Regions from separate parts of the Homo sapiens genome. Here regions 2, 3, 4 and 5 are each linked to region 1. The links are contacts of gene promoters, found by promoter capture Hi-C in human tissues and cell types (Jung and others, 2019). All regions are on one chromosome and are shown on one strand. The core of a region is centred on a gene start or on the middle of the fragment in contact, and the rest is flanking DNA. Distances in the headings are between cores, read along the strand shown. Region 1 holds the start of PAFAH1B1 (platelet activating factor acetylhydrolase 1b regulatory subunit 1). Region 2 overlaps SGSM2 (small G protein signaling modulator 2). Region 3 overlaps MNT (MAX network transcriptional repressor). Region 4 overlaps LOC284009 (a long non-coding RNA gene). Region 5 has its middle 5.0 kb from the start of CCDC92B.

Region 1 (3,173 bases), core at 253-2,752:
GGGGACCTTGGCATGACATCGCCCATTGAGAACGAGACCACAAATCTGGTCCTCCTCTTCAAAGGCGTATTTTCTTAACCAAAAGACTGATATAAATTGGGCCCAAACCCCAAAAGAAAATTTCCTGCCCTCTTCCCAAGGAGTTTCTTGCTAAGTCACTGAAGAAAGGTAGCATAACATATAAAGCTATGGTACCTTGCTCTCTCCTACTAAATACGGAAAACCTCTTCCCCTCTACTGCTACGTTTAGAGGTGCAGAGTCAAAATGTGTCGACCACCTCAAAGGCATTTTCTCATGTGGGAGGCTAAAGAGGGTAAATATGCAGAGGCACTGCGTTTCCCAAAGGGGCAGGGAGATGAGATTAGACGAAGGGGAATGGCAGGGAGCCTCGAAGCTGAATGTTAACAGCATCAAAAGGCAACTCCCGACCGAGGAGCCGGTGGCAGAAAGAAAATCCTGCCAGATTCGGTGGGTGGATGCTGCGGATTGCTCGGTGGGCCGGGCTGCCTCTCCTCGGCGGGTGCTGAGGCTGGACCGCCGCACCGGGGGCCAGGGAGACGGTGGGCCACCCTCCGCTGGTCAACCCCATCTTAAGGACCAGTCGGGGACGGAATGCCTGGAAGGCCCTATGAGTGCCCCGGCGGCGCGGGGCTGAGCCGGTCCCCGAGCCGATAACTGAGGGTGGGGTGGGGACTGCGGTGCTCGTCTCCGCGGCCGGGGAGAGCAGGGCCGATCCTTTTCCCCAAGATCAGAGAGCTACCTGGTCCCCACGCCCTTCCAACCCAAGAATACTTTTCTTGCTAAGTCACCGAGGGAGGAGGGCGATCCCTTCTTGGGGAGGGCCGCGGGGCGGGGGTCGCAGAGGCGCCGGCAGCCCCCAAAGCCGGGCCCGGGAGGAGAGGAGCGAGGGCAGCGCCCTCCCCGGACAGTCCCCCTCCTCCGGGTCTCTCACTCAACGGCCGTCGCGGCCGCCATTTTGAGAGCGAGGAGAGAAGAAGAAGGAGGAGGCGGCGGCGGAGGCAGGGGGAGGGGAGAATGGGAGGGAGGGGACCGGCGCAGCCACATCGTCAGGCCGCCGGGTCCGGCCTGCAGCCGCCCGGGCGCGGTGGAGGAGACAGAGGGGAGGGCGCAGACCCGCGCCGCCTTACCGGAGCGCTGCACCGCCGCCTCCGCAGGGCCTCTTCCGTCCTTCACTCCCATCCACCGGCGGGGGAGGGGGAGGGAGAGGGGAGGGAGGAAGGAGGGAGGGAGGGAAGGAGGGGGGAGGATGGCGCGCTGGGCCCGGGCCCGGGGAGGGGGAGGGGAGGGGAGCGGGCGGGCTCCTCAGCCGTTCCGGGGCTCGAGTCCAAGCTCGGCGCTCGCGGTTTCTCTCGCTCGCGCCCGAGCGCTCCCCTCCTTCTCCTTCTCGCTCCCTAGACTCCCGTGTCGCTGCTCCTCCGCTCGCTCACTCGCTCTCCCGGCCGCCGGACTCCGCCGCCGCCCCGCCGCTCCAGCTCCGTCTGTCACAGGAGCTGCCCCAACGCCCTGACGTCACCGCGCCGCCGCCGCCGCCGCCGCCGCCGCCCCAGACCCGCCAGGAAGAGGGAGGGGCGGGCGCCGGGAGCGGAGGAGGGGCTGCGGCGCATGCGCCGGGCTGGGCCGGGCCGGGGCCGCGCTGCCTTCTAGCGGGCGGGCGGCTGAGCGGTGCCACCCGGCCGGCGGGCGAGTCTGCGTGCGAGGTGCTGCTTCTCACGCTCCGCACGCTTCTGTTAACCTTGGGAGAGGCTCTTTTTTCCCAGCCCCTCGTCTGACTTGCGGCCCCTTCTGAACTCTGGCTCTGCTCACCTCGCTGCCCTGCTTTTGCGCTCATGCGGCCGACCGCGGCGTCCCGTTGGCACCGTGTGTGGCGGGCCCCGGGAGGCGCGAGAGGCAGCGGGGCCCGGCCACCTACCGCCCCTTTCTGCCTCCGGCCTCCGAGATGATTTCCCAGTTTGGGGGGGAATGAGGGAGGGGAGTAGGCTGGCTGGCTTGGGAGGAGGAGCTGTTGAGGTTAAAAGGCAGATGGAATGCTGTCATTGTCTTGATTTGTATTATAGATTCTTAATTGGGAGGACTCGCTTTTGGATATGATTCAGCTATTCTTCTCCTTAGTCACACACAGACATCAGAGTCTCTCCAGGTCTCGAAACGGATGCCCAAAGAAAGGCCTGGAACTGTATCCCTATAAGGGATGTCTGTGTGTGTTTGCTAAATTATGGATTGAAATATTGATGACAAGAGTCGTCTTGGGGATTTGTAGTTAATTTATTCCACACAGATACCTATGATTTTTCTTTTCTTTTCCTTTTTTTTTTTTTTTTTTTTTTGAGACGGAGTCTCGCTGTGTCGCCCAGGCTGGAGTGCAGTGGCGCGATCTCGGCTCACTGCAACCTCCGCCTCCCGAGTTCAAGCGATTCTCTGCATCAGCCTCCCGAGTAGCTGGGAGTACAGGCACTTGCCACCACGCCCAGCTAATTTTTGTTTTTTGTTTTTGTTTTTGTTTTTGAGATGGAGTCTCGCTCTGTCGCCCAGGCTGGAGTGCAGTGGTGCAATCTCCACTCACTGCAGGCTCCGCCTCCCGGGTTCACGCCATTCTCCTGCCTCAGCCTCCCGAGTAGCTGGGACCACAGGCGCCCACCACCACGCCCGGCTAATTTTTTTGGTATTTTTAGTAGAGACGGGGTTTCATCATGTTGGCCCGGATGGTCTCGATCCCTTGACCTCGTGATCCGCCCGCCTCTGCCTCCCAAAGTGCTGGGATTACAGGCGTGAGCCACCGTGCTCAGCCGACCCTTGATTTTTAAAAAGCGAGATTTGGGGTTCTGAATAATTCAATATGGGCTATTATTTTAATAACAGGTTTAAATGAGATTATCTTATCATTCATTTGTATTGTCCAAGGAAGCTTTTTTCTTGAAACAGGCTTAAGCTTATGTGTACTGATTTTATTGCGTCACTTTATGTAGGTAAATATATATATATATACTGCATTTGAGAAGCAGCAGAGTTAACGAAAGAGACAACTTAGGTGTAAATCCTGGACCCCGCACTTGCCAGAAGCGCGACCTGGGGCAAATTACCATACCTCTCTTTGGCCTCAGTTTCTCAATAAAAGACACCTAATAACTAACCCGGCTTTTGTGAGAATTACAGA
Region 2 (3,173 bases), core at 421-2,920, 230 kb after region 1:
TGACTGGGGTTGGGAGGTGAAGGAGGGGTACAGAGCCTTGTGCCCACAAGGAACCAATCCCCTCCCTCAAGCTGATCCCTCACCCAGAGGCCCTGCAAGGAACAGGCCCAGGATGCCAACTTTCCGATGGGTGTCCTAGGAAGTAGCAATTGCCAAGTGGGAAGAGCTGAAAGGAGGGAAGAAGGGGCTGGCCCAGGGCTCACCTGCCCTCTGCTTGTTGCTGCAGCTCCTGTACCTTGTGGCAAATCTCCCCCGCCACTGGGCACGTCTTCCCCACCTTGGTGAACAGGGCTGCCATCTTGTCACTGCGCAGGAAGCCAGCGGCACGGCGTCTCAGCTGATGCAAGAGGCAAGCCTCCACTGCACCTAGGCCACAAAGGGAAACGGCATCTGAGCCTGGGAAAGACGGGGGAGCAGGAAGAAAAGCTCCTCTTCCCCATACCTGTGGTGAGGCAAGGGGTAAGGGCAAGCCAAGGGCAGGCCAGGGAGATACCCTGGCTTCCTTCCAAAATTCCCCTCCCCGTCCCTCGGCTCCTGCCCGGGGCGAAGAGCTTTGACATGCCAAGCTGTCCCTCTCCCTCGCCTGGTGCGCACACACCTCCTATATGCAGCCTCACCCCTGGGGGTCATGAGGACCAAAGCTCCCCATTCAGGGTGGCATGAGTGGCTCCAAACCTGACAGCAAGGCACAGCACCTACAGGACGGGGATGTGAGGAACACCCGACTCGGGAGCCTTTCTGGAGGGCACGGAGGATGCGGTTGCTAAGGAACAGGGCTCTGCAGGAGCTAAAATATTGATGAAGTCACTGCAGAGCTTGGACCCGACAGTGGCCGCTGGACTGATGAGCCCAGCAGCTGAGGGAGAGATTTCTCTTTTCCATGCTAGGAGGGCTTCCCTCCATTCATTCATGGTTTAGGGTTAGGCTTAGTCTCTGTCTGGACTTTCCACAGACAGACCCTGCAGGAAGAAAAGAAGGGCTTGGTAGGAGACAGTAGGGAGCTGCCCTGTGCCCAGACAGACTCTAAAGACAGGAGTGTGTATGTGTGTGGGGCGGAGAAGCTTCTACATGATTGGGCCAAACTAACAGTTTTACAGGTGAGGAGGGAAAGGCCCAAAGAGGGGAAGAAACTCGATCACAGTCACAACATGGCAGAGCCACCAGGATGAGGACCCAGGGCTCCAAGCCTCGGCCCGAGCCCCTTTTGCCACGTCCAGGTGTGTCTGGTTGGGGGCAGGGACACTGAGGGGAGAAGGAGGTGGTTTTTTCACACGGACTGGAAACAGTGAGCTGTGCTGGAGACAGTCAGACAGAACAAAGTCTGAGCTTGGCACGGTCACTTGCTCTGAGACTCAGTTGTATCCTCTGTGAAATGGGAAGAGGGCTAGTGTGAGATGTCACATGAGACGGAGGATGTGAAATCACCCATGCGGGGTCTGGCTCTCAGGAGGTGCTGGGTCTAGGTCAGTTCCTGACTCCTCACCCTGTTGGTTCAGATACAGTTCTACAGCTAGCCTCTAAGAGCTGGCTTTCAGCAGGACCTCTCCCCGACAGGGACAGGAAGAGGGTGCACTGGAGAGACGATCCAAGGCTGCCCCAGAAGTGGGTGGAGACAGGGAAATTGAGGTCTGTCAAGGTTTTTTTATTTTTATTTTTGAGACAGGGACCCACTCTGATGCCCAGGCTGGAGTGCAATCGTGGAATCTCAGCTCACAGCAGCTGAGAGCTGACCTCTGTGGTTCAGGTGATTCTCCCGCCTCAGCCTCCCGAGTAGCTGAGACTACAGGCACACACCACCATGCCCAGCTAATTTTTGTATTTTAGTAGAGACGGGGTTTCGCCACGTTGGCCAGGCTGGTCTCGAACTCCTGACCTCAAGTGATCCGCCCGCCTCGGCCTCTCAAAGTGCTGGGATTACAGGCGTGAGGCACCGCGCCCGGCCCACATGGGGAAATCTTTGGCTTAAGCGTCCACATGCTCCTCTCCATGATCATTCCCCCTGGTCCCTGGAGGTCTTGTGTGGCCCTGGGATATACAGGCGAATGACCCTTTTGTCCCAGTCTCTTGGTCCTGGGCTGCTGCAGCTACAATTCCGTGCCTGTGGAAAGGGGGTGATCATTTCCTGGGGTTGCACTTCCCATTCAGAGTGGGGAGAGAAGCAGCACTGAACAGGACAGAGGGGCAGCAGGTGGCACATGTCCTGCACGGATCACATGCCTCAGTGGTGTGATTAATTGCCGGGATAATGAGTCATTCGCTTCCCCACCTTCCCTAGGCGACCGCAAAAGCAGCCAGGCCGTGGGGACTGGGGAGTGGCCGGCCCCAGCACTCCCATCGGGGTGGCCTCGCCTACCTTCCCGGCCAGCCTCTGAGCACAGCCATGGGGTTCTCTCGGGTGAGAGGAGGCATTCCTAAGCAATTACTGCAACTAAGGAATACTGAGAGAAGCCAGGCATCACGCTCAGTCCCCCCTTTACCCCACGGTCCCTAATTTCCTTCTGTGCAACCCAGGCAAGGTGCCAGGCAGTGTCTGGGGAAGGAGAAATCCCTCTCATGCATCGACTTTCCAAGCTAAGACCAGTTAGGCCATTAGGCCAGGCATTACTGACTCAGCTCTGTGGGCTCCCGGCCAGTAACTGTTCACACTGCACTTGTCCTATGCCATGCCCACAAGGTGTTCCCCACCGAGAGTGTGCACGTGTGATGAATATGTTATCGCGTGCAGTGTGCAGACAAAATAATAATAGTGACACCACTACTTGAGAACTATGGCCCCGAGAGGACTTTGTGAATGGGCTTCTGGGGCTCCAAAAACTCCCTCCCTGGGTCTGGGCGCCGTGGCTCACGCCTGTAATCCCAGCACTTTGGGAGGCCGAGGCAGGCGGATCATGAGGTCAGGAGATTGAGACCATCCTGGCTAACACGGTGAAATCCCATCTCTACTAAAAATACAAAAAATTAGCTGGGCGTGGTAGGGGGCACCTGAAGTCCCAGCTACCTGGGAGGCTGAGGTAGGAGAATCACTTGAACCTGGGAGGCAGAGGTTGCAGTGAGCCGAGATGGCGCCACTGCACTCCAGCCTGGGGGAACACAGCGAGACTTTGTCTCAAAAAAAAAAAAAAAAAAAAACAACAACAACAACAAAAAAGAGCCCCTCCCTGATATTGGGAGCA
Region 3 (3,173 bases), core at 455-2,954, 210 kb after region 1:
ATGGGGAGCAGCATGTAAATGGAGCCTCGTCGAGAAGCGTCACAGGCGGGCACAGTGGAGAGTCGCCTAGGGGGTCGGGGAGCAGGTGCAGACCAGCAGCCAGGAGGGAGGCGAGTCCTGGAGATGAGATGGGGCGAGGGCGTGTCACTGCCTAGTGGCTCATCGTGCAAGGATGTTGATGTTACCAGGGAGACAAGTGAACGGTGAGGTGGAAGCGCAGGATCAGGTTCCTTAGAGGGTAGCTCGCGGCAGAAGTGTGCAAAGTGAAGAGGCTGCTGGAGGAGGGATGGGGCGAGAGGCGGAGAAGCCCCTGAGGATGAATTGTGGAGGACAGGGAAGGACCTGCACACCTGGTTGAGCTTGCTTCAGTGGTGCCTGTCCCAAGAGCCCACACTCCTTGGGACGCTGGGCCTCACTGGGCAGGGGCATGGACCACAACAGGTGCGGTCTCCAGCAGCCCCCGTCAGGCTGGGCCCGCTGGTTGCCACGGACTTGCCTCTGTGGGCCAGCTGATAGGGAGAGGTTTGTGGGGGCTTTGGGCCCCAAGGCTGCTGCTCAGGGTGTCCTGCTGTCCCTTACTCTGTGTGCCAGTCCCTGAAGAGGAAGGAGAAGGAATATGAGCATGAAATGGAGCGGCTGGCACGTGAGAAGATTGCCACGCAGCAGCGGCTGGCAGAGCTCAAGCACGAGCTGAGCCAGTGGATGGACGTACTGGAGATTGACCGCGTGCTGCGGCAGACGGGCCAGCCCGAGGATGACCAGGCCTCCACCTCCACCGCCTCTGGTGAGCCCCAGCCCCCACGCTGGCCCCCCAGCCCTCAGATGTTACACCTCAAATTCCAGCCTCCCTGGCCAGGCTCTTTCTTGCCTGCTAGAAAAGATGGCCCTGGCCCCAGCCCCATCACATTCCCACGCCCCCACGAGCATCTACGCCTCCAGCCACTTGCTTCCCCGCCCTTCTGACCTGCTCCCTGCCCCATGTTCCCCACAGAGGGTGAGGACAACATAGACGAGGATATGGAGGAGGACCGGGCGGGCCTGGGCCCACCTAAGCTGAGCCATCGTCCCCAGCCGGAGCTGCTGAAGTCCACCCTGCCACCCCCCAGCACCACCCCTGCGCCTCTGCCTCCACACCCACACCCTCACCCCCACTCCGTGGCCCTACCTCCTGCCCACCTCCCCGTGCAGCAGCAGCAGCCACAGCAGAAGACCCCTCTGCCAGCCCCTCCTCCCCCACCGGCTGCCCCTGCCCAGACACTGGTGCCAGCTCCAGCCCATCTGGTGGCGACGGCTGGGGGTGGCTCCACGGTCATCGCCCACACAGCCACCACTCACGCTTCAGTCATCCAGACTGTGAACCACGTTCTGCAGGGGCCAGGCGGCAAGCACATCGCCCACATCGCCCCCTCGGCCCCCAGCCCTGCGGTGCAACTGGCGCCTGCCACACCCCCCATTGGGCACATCACTGTGCACCCTGCCACCCTCAACCATGTGGCCCACCTGGGCTCCCAGCTGCCCTTGTACCCGCAGCCCGTGGCAGTGAGCCACATCGCCCACACCCTCTCGCACCAGCAAGTCAACGGCACGGCCGGCCTGGGGCCCCCGGCTACTGTCATGGCAAAGCCGGCCGTGGGGGCTCAGGTGGTGCACCACCCCCAGCTGGTGGGCCAGACCGTGCTCAACCCTGTGACCATGGTCACCATGCCCTCCTTCCCAGTCAGCACACTCAAGCTGGCTTGAGGACGAGGCCACTCAGAGGCCCCCAGTGGGGACAGGGAGGGGGACCTGTCCCCCACTCTCTCACCCACCAGCTCCACACATTCCAGCCAGGCCCAGGCCAGCCCCCCCACCCACCCCCAGGCCTCCTAGGGGAAGGGGGTGCAAAGACTCTGAGCCAAGGGAGGGAAGGGCCACCCTGCTGCACTAGGACTTGGTAAGATGACTCTGAGAAAATGCGAGACTCTGATGGAATGTGCCACCTGTCCGGCCCAGTGCCAGCTCCAGTGCCGCTCCTGCTTCCCCTCCCTACCCTCGGAAATCAGTGCGATGTGGACGTCACGCTCCCTGACTTCTCCCCCGCCCTGCCCCGCCTTCGTGTGCTGCTGCTGCTATTGCTGTCTGGTGAGGTGGCCCAGGCCCCCGGCTTTCCTCCGGAGCCTCATGTTCTCTTCCCAGGCCTTTGGAGGGGAAATGGGGAAAGCAGAACTGAAGCCACTTGGCCCAGAAAGCTGCGGATTGGGGTGATAAGGGGCCTTGCTCTGAGCACAGGTGACAGATCATAGGAAGTGGCTGGTCTGGAGTCCCACCCGGACAGGTGGGGCCTCAGCCTGGGGCTCTCTGACCCGGTTGCAGTCACTGTGATTCGTTACCGTAGATACTACTTAAAATGATTCTCTACCAACAATAAACCAAACCCAGCCACTGCCAAGCTTCCTGTGCCCTCACCCCAATCCCTGCCACTGGGCTCTGGACCTCAGGAGGGCAGGCTGAGGTGGGGAAGGAGGGACTTGGCTGTCCTTCCCCTTCCCCGTCCCCTGCAGCCTGGGTCTGGATGGGAGGAGAGCCACTGGGCCCCTGTCCCCAGTCCCCAGTCCCCAGCCCTGGGCTTGGCTCTTGGCTTCCAGAAGGCAGCAAAGAGGGGCGCTGTCCTGCGTTCAGCCCCTGATCTCTGACCTCTGCTGAGTGCTGGGCACTGCTCCAAGGGACAGGTGGGCCTGGCGGCCTGTGGGTTTGGGTGCCTCCTGCAGTTTGGGAGACATGGACCAGCATCTGGTCTTGTTTCCAGGAGCATAGAAGCCACATCGTTGAGACATCAGGAAGGTAAAAACCCAGCGGCTTAGCCAAGCCCTAAGCCTGTCCCCAGACCAACCCTGGGACCTATACAGAACAGAGGGCCAGAGCTAGGGCTGCTGCTTCTGCTCCAGCCCCTTTGCCTCTGTCCTCCCATCCCCTCAACACCCTGCTTCTCCCGGGGACGCTTTTGAGTGGGCCCTGCCCGGGGAGCTGCAGAGCAGCAGCACCTTTCTCTGAGAAGAGGTCCTTGGTTGGGTCAAGGACAGGGCTGAGCGTGGAAGGGGGAGGAGTCAGGGGCTCTGTGTTAGGATGCGGCTTTCTCTGCCTCTGGGCAGCCTGCTTTGGCCTTTCCTTGTATGTGGGTGTTTATTACAAGTGGC
Region 4 (3,173 bases), core at 479-2,978, 190 kb after region 1:
AATCAAATCTATCACACTGTGCTTTTATATTTTCTTTGTTTGCCTTTATGGGTAGAAACTCCTTCACCACCCTAGAGCTGAAAAATGTTTTCCTATATTTTATTATGGCTATTTTAGTTTTATTTTTTACATTTAGCATTTGAATTTACATTGCTGTATGGTGTGAAGTTTAAGGACCTGTCTTTTACCAGTGGTTCAGCATTATTTCAGACTAACTCATCAGAGAGGGCGCTGGGAAGCTCTAGCACTCCCCACTGAGGTGTCCCTGATGGCACAGGGAGTGGAGCAGGCTGGGCAGCAGTGGTGTGTCCTTTCCCAGTGGGCCCTGGGGCCTTGGGGAGAGATCTCATAGTGCACCTGGAGCTGAGCCCTGGCTCTGTGGTATCTGCTCTGGGCTGTGCAGCCAGTGACCGGCCACTGCTCTCGGCCTTGCCTCCAGAGAGAGCCTCATTCCTGGCATAGGCTGCTGATCTCTTGGGCTTTCAAGACTTGATGCTACAGCCTTGCATTTGGGTGTGAACTGGGGCTGCTGGGATATAGACCTTAGTCCTTTGTGTGGGGCACTGATCACATTGCAGCCCGTCGGTCCTGGGAGGTTTCTTCCCTATCACCATGTCCCCACCCCTGCGTGATCCAGCGGACTCTTGACTCCCATGGCAAGACTCCACCCGGCTTTACTCATAACTTCTGCCCAGTCCCACTCCCTTGACCTGAATTAGTTTTGCTGTCATAAAGCCACCTCTTTTTTCCTTTAAAGGAATCCCTGACATCGTCATCCGTCTCCTGTGCCTTTCCGCTGGGTCAGCCTCCTCCCACCAAGCTTCTGACCCACTGTCATCCGCAGCTGCCACTCTAGCTGCAGAGCTCGACTGGGCTCTGGTTTCTCAGAAGAGCTCAGAGGACCTGGCTCCTCCCTCTTTGCTTCTGAACTGCATTTCTTTCCTTATTACTCAGTGTCCACACCCACGGTGGCTGCCTGGATAAAAATCTGCCCCTTTCTCCCGTCACCTTTCATGCCAGACAAAAGCCCCAGTGAGTAATGGTGACCTACCCAGGTCCAGCTAGCAGCTCTCCATTCCTGAGTGGCCTGGGGCAGAACAGGGTCCTGCGAGCTCCTGGATCCCAAGTCTGATTCCCTTTCCCTGTCTTCCCGCTTATCTGCTAAGCTTGTTTATTGGGGACCACTAAGCAAAGTGAATGATTATTCCTGTCTTTAACGAGGAGGGGTGGAGTTCCCTCTCCATCTTCACCCACTTCTGGGAGGCTTTCAGGGACTCAACACCCCACACTGATAGCACTTCCCCAGGCCTGGCCCAGCCAGCCAAAGAGGAGGACCAGGCCACTTCTCAACCTAGCTGATGCTTGGCAGCTTTGTGACCTTGGATACACCTTCTCTTGGGAGGTCAGACCCCATGATCCCAGCTCTTCCAGCTATGACATCATGTGAGGCTGCAATTTTTTTTTTTTTTTTTTTGAGACAGTATCTTGCTATGTTGCCCAGGCTGGCCTTGAAATCCTGGGCTCAGGCGATTCTCCTGTCTCAGCCTCCCACGTAGCTGGAACTTAGGGCGTGAGCCACCGCGCCCAGCTTCTGGAAAGGACATGAATGGGGAGGTGGAACTTGATTGGACCTGTTCTGTGAGTTCAGGAGAGGTCCTCTGACAACTCACTTGGGGTGGGGAAAGGAGGTAAAGAGTCCTGTGGAAACTTTTGGCTGTGGGGACCCCATTTCACTGATGATTGAATGGGTCCACCTCTGTCAAAGGAATTCAGAGTCCCACTCATCATTCAGACTGGGGGAATCAGGCTCAGTTGACTGGCCCAGCCTTAAATCCACTGAATTTGTTTTTATCTCTACATAGAAAAACGGAATTACAGTTGCTTCTCACTGTCCAATGGGGATTGGTTCCTGGAGCCTCCCTGAATACCTGTCCATGGATGATGCTCAAATCCCTTACATGTAACCTATGCACATCCTCAGGTATCCTTTAACTCATCTCTGCGCTACTCAAATACCTCATACCATGTAAATGCTGTGTAAATAGTTCTTGTGCTGTGTTGGTTTTTAAATTTGTATTATTTTTTCTTGTATATTTTCCATTTTTTTTTCCTGAATATTTTTGATCCACGGTTAGTTGCCTCCATGGGTGCGGACCCACGGACACGGAGGCTGCACCTTCTGAAATGAGCATGGCGGCGCCCTCTGGGTCCTCGTGTCGTCCTGTCTCTGGTGCTGCATCCAGCACGGTGGCGAACAGCAGAACTAATCTTTTGCAAGTTATCACAGTGGAGTGGAGTTCCGCTCTGTTTGCTTTTGCCCCGCTCTGGCTTACCAGAGGTCCCCTGGCCTTGGCCACAGCATACCTAGCCTAGTGCTTGGCACCTCAGGCACACAATAAATATTTATGAAATGGATCTTCTCTGGTATGTCTTGAGTGTACTAGTCTTCTGTTTTTTCCTCTTCATCCTGCAGCCAGCTTCCTCCCATGGGTCTTGTTTTAATGATGGTATGTGAAAAGCTCCTTAGCTGCTTGCAAAAGATGAGACATCAGGCTTGAAGGGTTGGGATTTCCTGTGAACATCTGTACTTTCGGCTTCACGCCCTTTCCCCCATCTCATGACTCAGGCTTTGTAGGAGTCAGGGCACTGATTTTCATAGCTCTTGGAGTTGATACTTTGTTAGGTGAGTGGTGGGGGATAGGAAGACAGTTCCACTAAGGGGATGTCTCTGGCTCAGCATATTAAAAAATTGGGGAATTGGTGCTTCTTATTGTGGTTGGTGAAAAAAAGAATAAAAGATTAAAAAATTGGAGGACATAATGGAATTTGAACTGGGAGGTGGGGTGCACAAGACTCGGGGAGGAAGACTGAAAACGGAAACCCTCTCGTGAGAAACTCACAATGATGGACAGCCCAGCTTTTCTCCTGCTCCAAGGTACTAAGCACCCAGAAGCCATGAAGAAACTTAAGGAACAGCCGGGCGCGGTGGCTCACGCCTGTCATCCCAGCCCTTTGGGAGGCCAAGACAGGCAGATCACTTGAGGTCAGGAGTTTGAGACCAGCCTGGCCAACATGGTGAAACCCCGTCTCTACTAAAAATACAAAAATTAGCCGGGCGTGGTGGTGCGTGCTTGTAATCCCAGCTACTCCGGAGGCTGAGGCAGGAGAATCAC
Region 5 (3,173 bases), core at 234-2,733, 160 kb before region 1:
CTGTGTTTCGGGGCTAAAGCACCCCTTTCCACGCAGGGGTTGGGGGCTGTGGGTGGTGCCTTCTCGGGGCCCAAGTCCAGAGCCCTGCCCCGGGTGGCAGAAGGAACGGAGGGAGGCACAAATGGGAAACCTGAAGGGGGCGAAGGGGAAGGCGGAAGCCCCGTGCGAGCGTGAAAGGTGAAGTGCAGGGAAAGGGCGCCCCCGCGGGAGGGGGACGGGGTTCCCCCAAAGCCTGACGGCTCGCACAGGGTCCCCGTCGCCCATCTCTTTGGAGAGCCGCAGAGACCCGGCGCGGGGACGCGGGGTGGTGGGGACCGGAGGGGGTGGTGGGGACCAGGCAGCCGGCGCCCCTCCGCCCACCCGGGCCCCGCAGCCTCAGCCCGGGACGAAACTTTGGGCCCGCGCCCCGCTGCTTCCCGCGCCGGCCGGGCCTCGGGGTTCGCTCCCGCATTAGGCCCCGCGCCGCCCGGCGCCCACTCACCAGCGCACCAGCTGCCAGCGCTTCTCCCCCGGCGCCCGGCGGCCCGCCATGCCTCGCCCGGCCGCTCCCTGCCCTCCGCGGGCCGCACGGTGGAGGAGGCTCGGCTGCCGCAGGCGGGTGTCCGGGGCGCGCTCGCGGGGAGGGCGCGGGGAGGGCGCGGGGAGGGCGCGGGGAGGGCGCGGCGCTCAGACCCCGCCCCTGGAGGCGGCTGGAGCCGGGTCAGCGCCGGCCCCGCAGAACGGGCGGGACAGCGGCCTCTCCCCGTCCGGGTCTCTCCCCGCCGCGCCGAGGAGCCGGGTTTCTGGGGAGCACTGGGCGGAGTCTGGTTCCCCGAGTCCTACTGACGCGCGGAGAGACCAGGCGGCCCATTGCCTCGTTCTGTGCCTTACTCCCTTAGGAAACCCGTTCTACCCAGGAAGTGATGCCTAAAGAAGTAAACTACTCGGCCGGGCGCGGTGGCTCACGCCTGTAATCCCAGCGCTTTGGGAGGCGGAGGTGGGCGGATCACGAGGTCAAGACGATCGAGACCAACCTGGCCAACATGGTGAAACCCCGTCTCTACTAAAAATAGAAAACTTAGCGGGGCGTGGTGGCGCCTGCCTGTAATCCCAGCTACTCGGGAGGCTGAGGCAGGAGAATCGCTTGAACCGGGGAGGCGGAGGTTGCAGTGAGCAGAGGTCGCGCCATTGCACTCCAGCCTGGGCAACAGGGCAAGACTGTCTCAAAAAAAAAAAAAAAAAAAAAAAAAGAAAGAAAAGAAAAAAACGTGGATAAGTATTGTCATTATATTAAAGTGAGGATAGGTTTTTTTTTTTTAGCATGACATCAGTGGCAGAAGCCATAAAGGAAGAGATTAATGGATTTGGCTAAAATAAAAATGTTTAATATCTGCACATCACAAAAACACAATAAGCAAAATTAAAAGGCTAATGTCAGCCAGGTGTGGTGGTATATGCCTGTAGTCCCAGCTACTTAGGAGTCTGAGGCAGGAGGATCACTTGAGCCAGGAGTTCAAGTCTGTTGAGTGCTATAAACATACCTGGGAATAGCCGCTGCCACTCCAGCCTGGGCAACATAGCAAGACCCGGTCTCTAAATATATATATAAAATATATATATATATATATGTCAAATGTCAAACTGGTTTAAAAAATGTGTGCCCCATGCGTGGTGGCTCATGCCTGTAATCCCAGCACTTTGGGAGGCCGAGGCAGGTGGATCACGAGGTCAGGAGATGGAGACCATCCTGGCCAACATGGTGAAACCCCCTCTCTACTAAAAATACAAAAAATTAGCCGTGCGTGGTGGCGGGCGCCTGTAGTCCCAGCTACTCGGAAGGCTGAGGCAGGAGAATGGCGTGAACCTGGGAGGCAGAGGGCAGAGCTTGCAGCGAGCCGAGATCGCGCCACTGCACTCCAGCCTGGGCGACAGTGCGAGACTCCGTCTCAAGAAAAAAAAAAGAAAAGAAAAGAAAGTGTGCCCCGTGTTCATGGCAGCATTATTCACAATAGCCAACAGGTGGAAGCAACCTAAATGTTCACTGATGGATGAATGGATAAACAAAATGTGGTATATATATATACGGCCGGGCGCGGTGGCTCACGCCTGTAATCCTAGCACTTTGGGAGGCCGAGGCGGGCAGATCACGAGGTCAGGAGATCGAGACCATCCTGGCCAATATGGTAAAACCCCATCTCTACTAAAAAATACAAAAATTAGCCTCCACCTCCTGGATTCAAGCGATTCTCCTGCCTCAGCCTCCCGAGTAGCTGGGATTACAAGCACCCACCACCACACCTGGCTAATTTTTGTATTTTTAGTAGAGACGAGATTTCGTCATGTTGGCCAGGCTGGTCTCAAACTCCTGACCGCAAGTGATCTGCCCACCTTGGCCTCCCAAAGTGCTGGGATTACAGGTGAGAGCCACCGGGCCCAGCCAAATTGTCCATTTTAAATGTGCCATCTGTTCCCTGCCAGGATGCTAACCAATACAGAACTGTTACCCAAACTAAACTGAGAAAGTCAGAATTTCTGACTGTCATGAAGAGATGGAGGAGACTCTAGGCCTTCTCTGCCACCCAGGCCTCATTCCTCTAGCTGGCATTCCAGGCCTTGCACACTTTGGCCCTTACCTTCCCTTTAAGCTATGACCACTGTGGCTGCCACAGCTGGACTCATGTTCTCTCTGGCAGGCGTGAGGATGCTGTGGTTACAAGCTTGTCTCTGGGCCAGGCTGGGCTGGAGTTTGAATCCTGGCTCTGCCATTTCCAAGCTGTGTGATGTTAAATTCAACCTCATTCTCTCCATCTGAAAATGGGAATAAACCTTTCCAATACGATTTATCTGAAGTTTAAATGAGATCCCATTGGTAAAGTGCTCAACTCAAAGTAATCGTGGCTTCGGAAGCAAGAGGTACACTTTTTCTAAACTTTAGTTTTCTTTTACTTTGTTACAAGTTTAATTTTGGAAATGGAGCCAGGGTGTGGCACCGTGGCTAATCCCAGCAAAGCGCTGTCATCTCAGCACTTTGGGAGGCCAAGGCAGGTAGATCACTTGAGCCCAGGAGTTCAAGATCAGCCTGGGCAACAGGGTGAAACCCCATCTCTACAAAAAACTACAAAAATTAGCCAGGCATGGTGGCACACGCCTGGAGCCCAGCTACTTGGGAGGCTGCGGTGGGAGGACCTGAGCTC

The links. The method cuts DNA at HindIII sites, captures the fragments that hold promoters and counts their contacts. A contact is called where the count stands out against the background at its distance.
Region 2: a fragment that was not itself captured here is called in contact with the fragment with the promoter of PAFAH1B1 in region 1 in 5 of the 25 tissues and cell types used here (IMR-90 fibroblasts, lymphoblastoid cells, mesendoderm cells and 2 more).
Region 3: a contact is called between a fragment that was not itself captured here and the fragment with the promoter of PAFAH1B1 in region 1, in 1 of the 25 tissues and cell types used here (aorta).
Region 4: a fragment that was not itself captured here is called in contact with the fragment with the promoter of PAFAH1B1 in region 1 in 3 of the 25 tissues and cell types used here (H1 embryonic stem cells, adrenal gland and dorsolateral prefrontal cortex).
Region 5: a fragment that was not itself captured here is called in contact with the fragment with the promoter of PAFAH1B1 in region 1 in 1 of the 25 tissues and cell types used here (bladder).

What each region holds. Positions count from the first base shown.
Region 1 is chr17:2,591,983-2,595,155 of GRCh38, reverse strand. It overlaps PAFAH1B1 (platelet activating factor acetylhydrolase 1b regulatory subunit 1), which reads right to left and starts at 1,502. Exons shown (of 11, transcript NM_000430.4): 1 at 1,150-1,502. RefSeq lists silencers at 654-703, 764-823, 1,234-1,463, 1,514-1,733 and an enhancer at 1,568-2,296. The HindIII fragment of the contact is 12,163 bases long and covers 1-3,173 here.
Region 2 is chr17:2,358,830-2,362,002 of GRCh38, reverse strand. SGSM2 (small G protein signaling modulator 2) reads right to left here. Exons shown (of 24, transcript NM_014853.3): 3 at 204-366. Among named protein-coding and RNA genes, the nearest start is that of SGSM2, 23 kb to the right of the region's middle. The HindIII fragment of the contact is 3,883 bases long and covers 1-3,173 here.
Region 3 is chr17:2,385,468-2,388,640 of GRCh38, reverse strand. It overlaps MNT (MAX network transcriptional repressor), which reads left to right. Exons shown (of 6, transcript NM_020310.3): 5 at 592-784; 6 at 992-3,173. The coding sequence ends at 1,740. Among named protein-coding and RNA genes, the nearest start is that of MNT, 14 kb to the left of the region's middle. RefSeq lists enhancers at 1-306, 1,834-2,658. The HindIII fragment of the contact is 3,787 bases long and covers 1-3,173 here.
Region 4 is chr17:2,404,815-2,407,987 of GRCh38, reverse strand. It overlaps LOC284009 (a long non-coding RNA gene), which reads left to right. Exons shown (of 3, transcript NR_028335.1): 3 at 758-1,007. Among named protein-coding and RNA genes, the nearest start is that of MNT, 5.3 kb to the right of the region's middle. The HindIII fragment of the contact is 5,447 bases long and covers 1-3,173 here.
Region 5 is chr17:2,753,076-2,756,248 of GRCh38, reverse strand. It overlaps a transcript of RAP1GAP2 not described here. Among named protein-coding and RNA genes, the nearest start is that of CCDC92B, 5.0 kb to the right of the region's middle. RefSeq lists a silencer at 952-1,161. The HindIII fragment of the contact is 4,795 bases long and covers 1-3,173 here.